3 separate regions of the Homo sapiens genome follow, and regions 1 and 2 are each linked to region 3. The links are contacts of gene promoters, found by promoter capture Hi-C in blood cells and fetal thymus (Javierre and others, 2016). All regions are on one chromosome and are shown on one strand. Each heading gives the region's core, a stretch centred on a gene start or on the middle of the fragment in contact. The rest is flanking DNA. Distances are from core to core; before and after follow the strand shown. Region 1 holds the start of DCTD (dCMP deaminase). Region 2 holds the start of CDKN2AIP (CDKN2A interacting protein). Region 3 holds the start of AGA (aspartylglucosaminidase).

Region 1 (4,784 bases), core at 579-3,078, 5.5 Mb after region 3:
AAGACACATCCGGTCACCGTCCCAGGCACACCCCACGCCGCTCGCAACCCCGTCAGCTCTGATCCAGGGCCTACACCCGGCATTCCCAACCCACACACGGGCGCAGGAAGGGATGTGGTGTTCAGACGCCCAGCACCACCTCCCGGGGCACTCCAAGGGGCCCGGCCTCGCACAGGCCGCGGCGCCCGCCGAGAAATCGACCCTGGAGTGACTGCGGGGACCCCGAGCGCCCCCACCCCGCCCGCATTCTCCGATCTAAAGGCTGAGCGCGGCCGAGGCGCCCCCAGCGTCCGCGGCCCCAGGCCCCCGCCCGGCAGCCAGCGCCCCGCGCCACGCGCTCGGGACGGTGCCACGCGGCGGTGGCTAGGGGCGCGCGGGCCGCGTACCCGCACGGCTGGCCCCCGCCCACCATCCGGTGCCGGCTCCGCGCGCAGGCCGGTGCTCGTCCCCGCCGCCGCCGTGCTCAGGGAAGGAAGTCGGGGGAGGAGGCGGGGCCGCCGCGGGGCCGGAAGGGGGCAGCGGCCCGGGCGCCGCGCGTTCGCAGGACGGCGGCTGGCCCCGGGGGCCCGAAGCCCTGAGGGGAGGGAGGGAGGGACGGCGGGGGCGGGTCGCACGCCGCAAAGGCGCTGCTCCGCGTCGCCGTACGCCTCCCGGTCCCCGTGACGCAGCCCGCGGTCCGGCCGGCGGTGTTCAGAGCCCGAGCACAAACTACTTCCCGGGTGCCAGACCGCCCCGAGGTCGCCCCGCTGCCCGGGTCACGCGTGGCGCTGGGTGGCCGCGAGTTGGGCGCTCCCGGGCCTGACTGCACGACCGTCGGGGGCTGCTTGGTTTGGTGGTGGTGGCGGTGGTGAGGTTTTCCCCACCATCCGTGTTCCATCAACTGCTTAGAGACACGGCTATGGAGATTGTGATTAAAAGACGACCCCAAGAATCTAGTGCCGTGAAACTGGCGGGGCGGGAGGTGGGGAGACCTGGTTTGGGTCTCTGGAGTGAGCCCGCTGTGTCGCAGCGTCCCCGTGGGGACCCTTGGCCGGTGGCTGGGTCACAGTTTCACACACTGGATGGGGCAGGGAACTGGGTCCGGCGGGGGCGCTGTGCCTCGAGGCTCAGTGCCTCGAAGCTAGATTTGCATTTGGCTGCGCCTGACAGGCTTTCAGTTTCTGCTCAAATTGTGCGGAAGGGCCTGAGGTGTTTGCTAAAGCCTGCCGCGCCCTGCTCGACCCGTATCACCGCACAGGCACCCCACCTGCATGTTACCTCCTGGTAATGCTCGCCCACTTATATAGTGCACATTTTGTTGCAGTTGTTTCAAAGATGAGAAAAACAGGGCAATAGGAAAGACCATCAGTGACATTTCTGGAGTCGTATGCCCCAAGCAACTTAATCTGGTTTTCATGAACTTCGTTACCCTGTGCAGACGTCTAGCCCCTTACAGTGGTTCTAGCACAGAGAATGACAGAAGAACCCCTTTCTGTTTCATTCATGGGACTTGAGGGGACTGTCAGCACTCCATAAATAACAGCTACTGTAATAATCGCCAGTTCTGATCTGCACATCCCAGATTTGAACTGCTATTCCAAACAAAAGCTTGTTAACTATATTAATTTAGCCTAACGGAGGAAGAATGATGAGAGTAAACAGTTGGTTCTATCTAATTTCTCACTACAGCAGACACATCATTCTTCATCTCATGGTCCAGCTTGTAGATTCAATAATTAAATTATGTACTGCTCTTGGTGGATGCCGGGAAAGCAAAAGGGAGAAATACTTCATCGTTAACTATAGATTTTTTTTTTTTTTTTTTTGCCTTGATAAGACTCAGGCTTGAAAGAGCCACATAGATTAAGATGATGATTTTTAATTTCAAGTTGACTTTACATGGCTGTCTTGTTGCCGCTAAAATGTGTCATATATCCCGAGCCCCTGGTTTCCCTCCTCCTCCCAAATCCACCGCTTGGTCTTTGTCACACTCATCTACAGTCTTTGGGTCTTCATAGATCCATTTCTCTTCTTACCAACCTACAACCCATACATCACCAATTGCTGCTGCTCCTTCAACCACAACATCATTAAGCTTTCTTCCTTCCTCTGCTCGGTAAAGACTGTCATACATAATTTAGTTACTTCTCATCACTCTCCATTTTGGTCAACTCACACACTCCCCTCTGCCATAAATTCAAGCTCCTGCTTGCTGAAAACACATTACCCTGAATGTTCCCGCATTTCACTGAAAGTCCCTCATCTTAAAGATGACATCATTCATAATACAGGAAACCCTCCTGGTTCAGAGTTTCACAACTTGAGGTTTCAAATATTGTACACCAATAGTGAAGCCACGCGGCCAAAGGGGGGAGAAATATATTCCTTGGTATGTCTTTCTCATTAACACCTTGTAACTCCAAGTGTGACTGTAGGTGTTAAATCTCTCTTGCTAATACCTTGTATTTGGGCTTATAATTGAGGATCTTTCTCCACCTACTACAGATACAGAGGTTAGGTATGTGTTCAGCCCTATCTAGATTGGCCTTCCTTGAGGGCCTCACACAGGTTGAACCCAATCAGCACATTCCTAAGGACTACTGTCTTGGCCCTTTTGTTTATGGGGTTTCGTGCTATCTATGTCTAGTCTAGAGCATAACCTGGAATATATTAATATTTCAGTGTGCCTTAGGTAGGGGATCCCGATTAAAAACAGAAGTCAAGGTAAGACTCTTCCAGGGCTGCCTCAGAAGAGGGGTTGATGGCATTTGCAAATGTCTGCCGTACCGAGATACTACCTGCCCCTCCTTCCACCTCCTCTGCCTGCCAAGGTAAGGATGAGACCTGTGACTGGGGAAACAGAGGCAAGGAGTCAGGAAGGTGGCCAATCTGTCCATCAAGTTTGTCATGAGAGAAAGAGCACCGGCCTTGGAGTCAGACCAGACTTTGAACCCTACTCCCACTTCTTACAACCCGAGTAACCTTGAGAAGCTACTTCCATTCTTGGAGTCTCTGTAAAATCAACAATATTCATTTTTTATTAATTCCCTGCTATGTGCTAAGTGCTGTAAATACCATGATGGATACTATAAGCCAGTTCTTGCCCTCACATTCCCCTCTCCGCAAATAAACACAGAAAAAAATGAACCTTATTGCTGGCCCAGTGAACATAGTAAATGTTGTTATAAACTGCCTGTTGTTCTTAATTTGGTGGTTGTCAGTCAGGACCAAAAACTCCTTTGCATAACAACTGCACTTAGAGGCAAAGTGCCACTTTGACTGGTTTTCAAAGGAATAATTGTTTATGTTTCCATGCTAAAGTGCAAACTAGAGAAAACTCTTTTTAAATCTTAAGTAAGGGATGACTGTAAGTCTGCTAAACCACAAAAAAGTCACAATGAAAATTCTAGAAAAAAATAAATATGTGGTCTTATCAATACAGTACAGGTTGAGCATCCCTAACCTGAAAATTCAAAATCCAAAATGCTCTAAGATCTGAAACTTTTTGAGTGCTGACACTCCCACAAGTGGGAAATTCACACCTGACCTCATGTGATAGGTGCACAAAATTATGAAAAATATCCTGTCAAACTACTTCCAGGCTATGTATGTAAGGTGTATATTAAACATAAATATATATTGTGTTTAGATTTGGGTCCCATCCCCAGGACACCTCATTACATATATGCACATATTCCCAAATCTGAAAAAATCCAAAACCTGAAACACTTCTGGTCCTAAGCATTTTGGAGAAGGGATATTCAACCTGTATATACATTTTCGTATGTATGTTAGAGCATGAGGTCAGTTGTTTGTGTTCCATGAAGGGCATACAGACTGCAAATTGACATGACAGAGCACTCCTATCAGAAAAAAAATCAGGATCCCTAAACAGCGTTTTTGTTATGAGTTGAAGCCACCAATTACTTTGTCATTATACATCTTCAAAATTACAATGAAGGGCCGGGTTTGTTGTAATGAACTCACTCCTGTAATCCCAGCAAAGTGGCAGGCCAAGGTGGGAGGATCGCTTGAGCCCAGGAATTTGAGACCAGCCTGGGCTATGCAAGACCCAGTCTCTGCAAAAAAAAAAAAAAAAAAAAGTTTTAAATGAGCCAAGCATGGTGGTGCATGCCTGTAGTCCCAGCTGCTCAGGAGGCTGAGGAGGGAAGATTGCTCGAGCCTAGAAGGTTGAGGCTGTAGTGAGCTGTGACTGCACCACTGCACTCCAGCTTGAGTGACAGAGGGAGACCCCATCTCAAAAAAAAAAAAATCTTTTTTTTCAATGAAGATCAATAAGGAAATGTTAACATGGCATATGCACAAAGCTGGGTGTTTTGCCGTTTTTTATTAATAAATATTTGTTGACTAAATAAATGAGTTAATAGAAAATCATTGTTCTATGCCAAATTGTTTGGAGCATCTAACTCATAGAGAGAAGTCTTTGTCTGTGAACTCTGGTTCTACTTCCCTATCCGCCTCCTTTTTCTCCTTGCAATTCATAGACCTGGAGAGACATTTGATAAGTGAGACATTGGGGCTGGTGGGTCAGGGAAACAAGAGTGAACAGTATCATTTTAAGGAGGCATGGATCTCAGTCCTAGGATTTGGGGCTTGGCCTGAAAATGACCATCTCTCGTACAGCAGAGCTGAAGGCGGAGGGGAAGGCTGTCTCCTCTTTCCTGGTGTGATGCCTCTCCCCATGACTTCTTTGCTTCTACAGAGCTGAACTTGTAGCCTCTTTCATACACAACTGGTTGAAGTGGATGGAAATTACATGTCTTATTGCTTCTTAAAAGAAAAAA
Region 2 (5,094 bases), core at 256-2,755, 6.0 Mb after region 3:
TGGCCGTGAGAACATTCTTGATTTAAAATGCACATATATAATCTAGGTATGCGATCATAGCTTCTTTTACTTGCCATGGTCCCCTTGCCAAAGAATTCATGAAAGGAGAAATCGTAATTTCTCCACCTTTTAAATAGCCAGATTTCTGCAATCCGTCCACCCCCTCTAGATTTTCAGCAATTATCTGTGAAAAGGAGGAAAGAACAGCAAACTAGAAGCAAAATCACAAAGCTTCAAAATTTCTTTGTGCCTCCGTTTTTATGTAGTTTCTTTTGGTATGGCAGGAAAATGGGCAATATTGTTTTCATACAATAGCTGTATTTTGTTCCAGCATGCACATAAATTACACAGTTAACCTTATCTGATCTTACCTAAAGTGACCTTTTTTTGCTTGCTTATTCTGATTCATGCATTTTTACATCAAAGTCTACATTTATTGAAAGAAAAATTTCATAATTTATATCATTTAACGTATTTATCTTACAGTGCATGTATACCTGGAATGGGAAACGTAACAATAAGCCAGCCAGCAGTTAGAGTACGTAACTGTGGGAAATGTAAAGTGGAAAAAAATATATAGAAGGAAAAAACAGCTCTAACAGGGAGAGAGGTTTGGGGCCCTATAGATAAATAGGTACATTTCCACTCCACCTCCGGACATCTGCCGGTTGGTGGTAAAGCTGTTGATTTTAGGAAATTCTAGAGACAGAGCGTTGTCGGGGTGTTGTTTTCCTACTGACCAGAACAGGAAGGCAATGCCTGGATTAACTAGAGACCTAATAAACTGCGGGAACAAGCCCTACCGCTGCGGGGCCAGGGCCAGCTTCGAAGGCTGCAAGCCTCACGGCAACACGGAGCCAGGTCCTCGTGTGACCTTACTGTCTACTGCTGCTATGTAAGGGGACTGGCACTCCCGCCCTCCTGAAGGCGCGGAGACCCCGACGGCCTCGGAACGCTTCGCTCGGGCACACTGAAAGCAGCGCGAGACGCAGCTCCCAACACTCTAACATGGAGGCCGGCTTTTGTTTGTTTTGGCCCCGCTCACACACAGGCGTCTCAGGGCGGAGACCACAGGCCCCGCGGCTGCGGGCGGCTCAAGGTCCCCCGGGACGCCCCCCTAGCGGACTTTGGCCGCCGCGCCCGGCTGCCTCCCTTGCCCGGGCCCTGCCCCTCTCGCCTCTGCTCCCGGCGCCGCAGCTGACCCGGCGGGGGAGGAGGACGGCAGGAGCGCGCGGCGTCACAAAGCGAGGACAGAACGCCCGGGGTTCCGCCGAGACTCGGTCGTCCCAGGCCAGCTCGACTTGCAGTCCGCCCTCGTGGGGCGGGAGACGCCCGACGCCCGCCCACCTCACCCCCGGGGTGCCCTCCGTGGCCTCACGGGGACGCAGCGTCGCAGCGGCCCCGGCGCCGCAAAGCGTCTTGGGAGCGCCGGCTCGCGCCGGAAGAACGCGAGGGCGCGCGGCGGCGGCGAGGTTATAAAAGGGAAGAAGCCGGCGGTGGGCGGAAGTGGGCGGTTCGGCGGCTCTGGGCGCTGTTGTTTGGTCTTTAGGCCTGCGGAGGGGCGTTATCTGGAGGGCCGCGGGTGCAGGCCGCAGTGACAGGGCCGCTCGCCCCGCTAGTCCTGCCTGTCTCCCGGTGCAGCTGTGTTCGCGGCCTGCAGGCCCAACATGGCGCAGGAGGTGTCGGAGTACCTGAGCCAGAACCCGCGGGTGGCAGCCTGGGTGGAGGCGCTGCGCTGCGACGGCGAGACTGACAAACACTGGCGCCACCGCCGGGATTTTTTGCTTCGCAACGCCGGGGACCTGGCCCCCGCTGGCGGCGCTGCCTCCGCTAGCACGGATGAAGCTGCCGACGCCGAGAGCGGGACCCGAAACCGGCAGCTGCAGCAGCTCATCTCCTTTTCCATGGCCTGGGCGAACCACGTCTTCCTCGGGTGCCGGTGAGTGAGGCAGCGTCCCTAACCAGCACGCCTCGTTTTGTGTGCCACCTGCAGACCGGGGCCCGGCGCCCTCCGCGGGACCGGCCTCGGCGGGGAGGGGAAGTTGTGAAGCGCGGGAATCCGCCGGCCCGGCTGCCCTCTAAGGGGGAGAAGGGCGTCCCTGCGAGGAGCCGACATGATTCCCGGACGTCTGTGTGCCCGGTGGTGTGGGCGCAGCTGCTGGTAGGGTTGCTTGTGTTAGGGAACAACGCTCTTGGGGACGGGTGCGAGATTTAAGATTAGTGAGGAGGTGCCCTGCCTCCCAGACCCTGGGGCACTTGTTTATGGGGTTCCAGGAAACAGTTCTTGGCGGTTGGTTCACTTTCTTGATTGCAGCCAGGAAATGCAGTCCCTGTGGCCTGTTTTTTGCACAAGTAGGACCTTAGAAAAAACACTTTTTAAAAATGACTTTTCCTTCTTTTTCAGATACCCTCAAAAAGTTATGGATAAAATACTTAGTATGGCTGAAGGCATCAAAGTGACAGATGCTCCAACCTATACAACAAGAGATGAACTGGTTGCCAAGGTGAAGAAAAGAGGGATATCGAGTAGCAATGGTTAGCAGATCATAGATGTGAACATACATAGGAGTTTAGAGCATAAGTTTGATATAATTAGGAATTATTGTTACTAATTTTTTTAACAAGCCAGAATTTTTATGTTATTAATAAGTAATAAAGTTGGAATGTTAAACCTAAAGTATATATCTGTGTCTTTAGGCTTTGAATTTGATAGTTTGCTTTGACTGCTTTAGATTTTGAAGTGTCCACTGTTGTCTGATGCTGTTATTTTTTTAATATTAGACATTCATGATGTTATTCAACACTGTTTTAAGAAATTAATGACTCCACACTTTTTAAAGAAACGATTAGTCTTGAAATGTTTTCACTTTGTGCCTTTATTTTAATGTGTATTTGTCTCATCACCCGTTTTGTACGAGGTATTCTTAGTCACATATCTATGTTTTTCTTCTTTTTAGAAGGGGTAGAAGAGCCATCCAAAAAACGAGTTATAGAAGGAAAAAACAGTTCTGCAGTTGAGCAAGATCACGCAAAAACCTCTGCCAAGACAGAACGTGCATCAGCTCAGCAGGAAAACAGTTCAACGTGTATAGGGTCGGCCATCAAATCAGAGAGTGGGAACTCAGCTCGGAGCTCTGGCATCTCCAGTCAGAATAGCTCTACAAGTGATGGAGATCGATCTGTTTCCAGCCAAAGCAGCAGCAGCGTTTCCTCTCAGGTAACAACGGCAGGATCTGGGAAAGCTTCTGAAGCAGAAGCTCCAGATAAACACGGTTCTGCATCATTTGTTTCCTTGCTGAAATCCAGTGTGAATAGTCACATGACCCAATCCACTGATTCTAGACAACAAAGTGGATCACCTAAAAAGAGTGCTTTGGAAGGCTCTTCAGCCTCAGCTTCTCAAAGCAGCTCAGAGATCGAGGTGCCCTTGTTGGGCTCCTCAGGAAGCTCAGAGGTAGAATTGCCACTATTGTCTTCCAAACCTAGTTCAGAGACAGCTTCAAGTGGGTTAACTTCCAAAACTAGTTCAGAGGCAAGTGTTTCATCATCAGTTGCTAAAAACAGTTCCTCATCAGGCACATCCTTACTGACTCCCAAGAGCAGCTCTTCAACAAATACATCGCTGCTAACTTCCAAGAGCACTTCCCAGGTAGCTGCATCACTACTAGCTTCCAAGAGCAGCTCCCAGACCAGTGGATCTCTGGTTTCCAAAAGCACTTCCTTAGCAAGTGTGTCCCAGTTGGCTTCTAAGAGTAGTTCTCAGACTAGCACCTCACAGTTGCCTTCTAAAAGTACTTCACAGTCAAGTGAGAGTTCTGTCAAATTCTCTTGCAAGTTAACCAATGAAGATGTGAAACAGAAGCAACCTTTTTTCAATAGACTATATAAAACGGTGGCATGGAAGTTGGTAGCTGTTGGTGGCTTTAGTCCCAATGTGAATCATGGAGAGCTCCTAAATGCAGCTATTGAGGCTCTGAAAGCAACACTGGATGTATTTTTTGTCCCACTAAAAGAATTGGCAGATCTGCCTCAAAATAAGAGCTCTCAAGAAAGTATTGTTTGTGAATTGAGGTGCAAGTCTGTGTATTTGGGCACTGGCTGTGGAAAAAGCAAAGAAAATGCAAAAGCAGTTGCATCAAGAGAAGCATTGAAGTTATTTCTCAAGAAAAAGGTGGTGGTAAAAATATGTAAAAGGAAATACAGAGGCAGTGAAATAGAAGATCTAGTACTCCTTGATGAAGAATCGAGGCCTGTAAACTTACCTCCAGCACTAAAACATCCTCAAGAATTACTATAATGTGTCCAAAATATCACTGCATACAATATCTGGTATTTGAAGAGAAAAACTGACTTTTGTATAGTATAAAACACAGGCTTTCACAAATTTTGTATTGCTTTTTTTCCAGTTTTGCAGAAAATTTACATTCTAGTTCTCTTCACACAGTAGCAGTTGTAAATAATTTATGAATGACAGTACACATTAAAAGGTATGCATTAGCAGCATATTAGTATGCTGTTTTATTTGCTGAAGAAAATACTGTCTTCTATTTTTAATGATACATTAGGTACGATGTGTAGTTCGGTAGAGTCCTAAAATTTTTGTACTACTTTCAATTTGGTGAAAATGTATTAAGTTGTCTACCATGTTTTCTTTTCTAGCTGAATAAACCACATCAAAGGAAAGGGACCACAGTATTTGAATGTTTGAAAGTCTGTAAAGCTTAAGGTTTTAAAAATGTTGCCCGTAATGTTGAACGTGTCTGTTAAAAAATAAAAGAAAAAATAGTTGCTTCAAACTATTTTTATGAGAAGTTGTAAGCATTTTTTAGATATAAAGCAGTATAAAGTACTTGTTATTTTACTCTGAAGTTGTTTAAAATTCACCATGACTTTGACCGCTGAAGATTCTTTAAGCGGGTTAATTTATGTTTTGAGGTGGAATACAATTTACACTTTTTTCTTAAAAACATGAATGTGGGTTTCTATATTAAGCATATTTTGTGACTACTATTAACAGATTGATTTGTTTAGATATTAAATGCTTTAAGCTATTTTACCTTTTCAAGAAGTTGTGTTTTTTTTCTCCAAGTCAGA
Region 3 (3,639 bases), core at 1-2,500:
TTTACGCAAGTTCCCTCTTTCAATACAGGCAACTTAAACACAGAACTGTCCCCCGCCCAGGCTGATGCAATTTCTTTTCGTCTCATTATGGCTGGGAATATCTTTCTCACAGCCTGCTTCTTCATTTTCTCTGAATCGTATGCACTGCCACCAAATTCTGGAGCCAATTCTGCCCTAGAAAGTTAATACGTTAGCAACCTCAGATGGAGGAGGAGGGGTCTGAAAATGACTCTTCTGGTCATTAAGCAAATGAAAGAAACAAGCATAGTACAATGCGAAAATGCCAAGATAATGGTACGTAAAGGCTATTAACAAGGTGTAGAAGGCAGGAACCTAACTCATTCTGGACACGAGGGCAGTTAAGTCAGGGAACGCTTCCTGGAAGAGGTGATACCTTAGCTTAGTGGTTCTCAACCCTGTCTGCAAATCGAAATCACCTAGGGAGCTTTTTAAAGAAAAACAGTGGCCCTGATTCCAGCAGTTAGATCACAGTCACAGGAGGTGGGCCCCGGCAGGATGATTTTTGAGAAGCTCCCCAGATAGTGTGAATGTACAGCAAAGGTTGGAACCTTGAATTCTAAGTGGCAGGTAAAGTATGACAACACGTGGCAAAAAAAGTAAATGGGAAAAGAGTAGGCTATGGCTGGGACACTATTAGTCGTCTACAAAATTGCAAAGAAGTGAAGGATTAGAAACGAGAGGTGGAGACGTACACAGCCCGTGAAAAGACTGTCAGGCAGAAAAGCGTAGCTGCTACTTGATTAAAGCACAAAGGCCATAACTATGGTCAGCAGCAGGGTGGAAAATACATTGCGCTGGGGGCTGCATGAAGGGAGGACCTAAAATGCAACAGCGGTAGGTGGGGAGGATGCAGTAAAGGCCACTTGCAAGAGACTGAGCGGCGCTGGAGACTCGGGAAGACCTAGAGGGCGGGACCGCGAGGCCCGGCCCAGCCCGGCGCTCTTCCGTCCGCCCTGCCGGGTGACTGCAGCGGGGCGGGCTAGTCATCCCCACCCGCAAGCTCTCGCGGCGCAGCCGCCCGCCCAGGCCGCCAACCCGCACCTGCTTCGGTTGCATTCTTAAAGGGCCAAGTGTTGACGACCAGGGGCAGAGGGCTGGAGCAGCGCACTAGGGCCTGGCAGAGCAGAAACGGCACGAGAAGCACAGGCAAGTTCGACTTCCGCGCCATCCCTGACCACCGAAGAGACCAGCGCGAGAAAAGTCCCGGCAGCCAGCGATCGCCGAACAATTAATCCCCAGTGCCCCGCCCGCCTGGCGCCCACGCCCGCTCTCTCGGGGGTTCGCTCAGGCGTCCCTCAACTCTCGCGAGACGAGGCGTCCCTGGGCCCGCGGGAGAGTTGTGTCACGGGGCACTGAGCTGTTCCCTGCGCTAAGGTGCTTCTTCCTAAGTGCTGTTCAGATTTTTAAAATAGCCAGACAAGTTGCTGCTTTTCCTGTGGTTAAAATAGATTTAGCTTGATATTGGGAATTTAATACAAAATTATTCAACTCTGGGTTGCAGGGCCCCAGGAACTTTAGCCGATTGCTGTGTACTATGGATTTGGTTCTTTTACTGTCTTTTTAATTTAAAGTTGAAGTTGAAAAGTTTGTCAAACTCAGTATATTCTTGGGGATCCCAGGCCTCGGAGGTCTGCAATAGTTATGAGTGTAGGTGAAGCGTGTTTGCTTAGGACCGGATTGATTTTAGATTTTTTTTCCATTCATAGCGTCCGTCATTTTCGCACCACAGCTTTTTGTAGCACTTCCTCTCATTATAAATCCCTGAGCTGGAAGAAAAACAGAAACGGCCTATGTACCCTCTACCTAGCACACTGAAGTGCAGCTTCCTGCACCTCCAGGGCAAGACGGCTACCTCCATTCCTTTTTAAATGTATTTTTACCTTCCTGCCTGGCACTATTAAGTGCTAAATAAATGAATAAGAGGAGGAATGGGGATTTTACGTGCTTGGTGGAGGCTGCTCAGTTTTGTTGCTGGGCAGACGTGCGAACATGAACTAATAATCCCTTTGGGTGTCTGGAATGCCTGCCCAGGTTGCCAAGGCAAGACACATAATCACATAATTTTTAAAAGCATCTATAAATCTATACAAACTTTAAAAATATGAACTAGGCTGGGCACGATGGCTCACGCCTGTAATCCCAACACTTTGGGATGCTGAGGTGGGTGGATCACGAGGTCAGGAGTTCGAGACCAGCCTGGCCAACATAGTGAAACCCGTCTCTACTAAAAATACAAAAATTAGCCGGGCGTGGTGGTGCATGCCTGTAGTCCCAACTACTTGGGAGGCTGAGGCAGAATTGCTTGAAGCCGGGAGGTGGAGATTGTGGTGAGCCGAGATCGCACCACTTCACTCCAGCCTGGACAACAGAGTGAGATTCTGTCTCAAAAATAAATAAATAAATAAATGTAAAAATATAAACTAGGTAGGAGTTGTGAGACTTACAAAACCTTCAAGGCTCTTATTGATTGCTAGGAAATTAAATACATAATTTAAAGAACATAAGATAGCCCAGAAGTATCATTATCCCGTTGGGGAAGTGTTAATTAAAAGATATAATAAAGACAAATTTTCTAAGTTCCTTTCATGGGGTTTGGAAGAGGAACAAGTCATCTGTGCTGGAGTAATCATAACCCAATGGCAGGTGAAACTGGAAACTTGGGTGAAACAGGGTAAGAAAGCCAGAAAAACATACATTGTCCTCTGAGTAAATTTTCCTTAGCTCCTGGGCTGAGTATTTTTATGCAGCCTTAAGGAATTAGGACATGCCTTTAGCAAAAATTGTAAAATACAATACATGGAAAATTGGTCTTAGTACCCCACTGATCTCTCTAGCCTCTTCCTGTTTTTTAAGGTATTTGTGTTTCTTCTGGTGGAAAGAGCCTGATCTGTTACCTCCTACTATGTCTATTTCTCCAAATTCTTTCTTCTTAAATAAAAATTCCTGTCAGAGAAACAGCTAAATTACACTATAGTGGGAATGGCTGATAGAAGGTCTCAATATATCAACTTTTCCATGGATATTTGTATGTATGTATGTATGTATGTATTTATTTTTTGAGATGGAGTCTTGCTCTATCGCCCAGGCTGGAGTTCACTGGTGTAATCTCAGCTCACTGCAACCTCCACCTCCTGCATTCAAGCGATTCTCTTGCCCCAGCCTCCTGAGTAGCTGGGATTGCTACTGCCTACTACCATGCCCGGCTAATTTTTGTATTTTAAGTAGAGACAGGTTTTGCCATTTTGGCCAGGTTGGTCTTGAACTCCTGACACAGGTGATCCACCCACCGCCCCCACCCCCCCGACCTCCCAAAATGCTGGGATTACAGGTGTGAGCCACCGTGCCCAGCCGGATATTTGTATTTAAATAACTAATATGCAATCCCTATAGAATCTACCCGATTCAGTGTCTTCTTAGTGGCTACTAAAATACCTACTGGATCCACTGTCCAGTTTGCCTAAATTGTAGCTGTTTCTTAAGTTAAATTCGTCTGGATATTTGGTTCCTTCTGGAGTAGTTTTCCTTTGACTAACACTTGAAGAATAATTTTCATTTTAGTTCTAGAAGTAACCTTCTGTTACTCTCACTTAGGTGCTCTTTTGGGCCTAAATATAATTA

The links. The method cuts DNA at HindIII sites, captures the fragments that hold promoters and counts their contacts. A CHiCAGO score of 5 or more calls a contact.
Region 1: a fragment that was not itself captured here is called in contact with the fragment with the promoter of AGA in region 3 in 1 of 17 cell types (total B cells); the score reaches 6.1 in total B cells.
Region 2: a contact is called between the fragment with the promoter of CDKN2AIP here and the fragment with the promoter of AGA in region 3, in 2 of 17 cell types (naive CD8 T cells and naive B cells). The highest score is 7.5, in naive CD8 T cells.

What each region holds. Positions count from the first base shown.
Region 1 is chr4:182,916,902-182,921,685 of GRCh38, forward strand. DCTD (dCMP deaminase) reads right to left here and starts at 485. Exons shown (of 6, transcript NM_001921.3): 1 at 410-485. RefSeq lists a silencer at 117-826 and an enhancer at 2,400-2,449. The HindIII fragment of the contact is 487 bases long and covers 1,586-2,072 here.
Region 2 is chr4:183,443,131-183,448,224 of GRCh38, forward strand. It overlaps CDKN2AIP (CDKN2A interacting protein), which reads left to right and starts at 1,506. Exons shown (of 3, transcript NM_017632.4): 1 at 1,506-1,939; 2 at 2,405-2,535; 3 at 2,958-5,094. The coding sequence starts at 1,668. The coding sequence ends at 4,297. RefSeq lists a silencer at 981-1,530 and an enhancer at 1,811-1,960. The HindIII fragment of the contact is 3,011 bases long and covers 230-3,240 here.
Region 3 is chr4:177,441,187-177,444,825 of GRCh38, forward strand. AGA (aspartylglucosaminidase) reads right to left here and starts at 1,251. Exons shown (of 9, transcript NM_000027.4): 1 at 1,063-1,251. The coding sequence starts at 1,189. It also overlaps a transcript of AGA-DT not described here. RefSeq lists enhancers at 297-376, 1,203-1,746, 1,837-1,916. The HindIII fragment of the contact is 8,233 bases long and covers 1-3,639 here.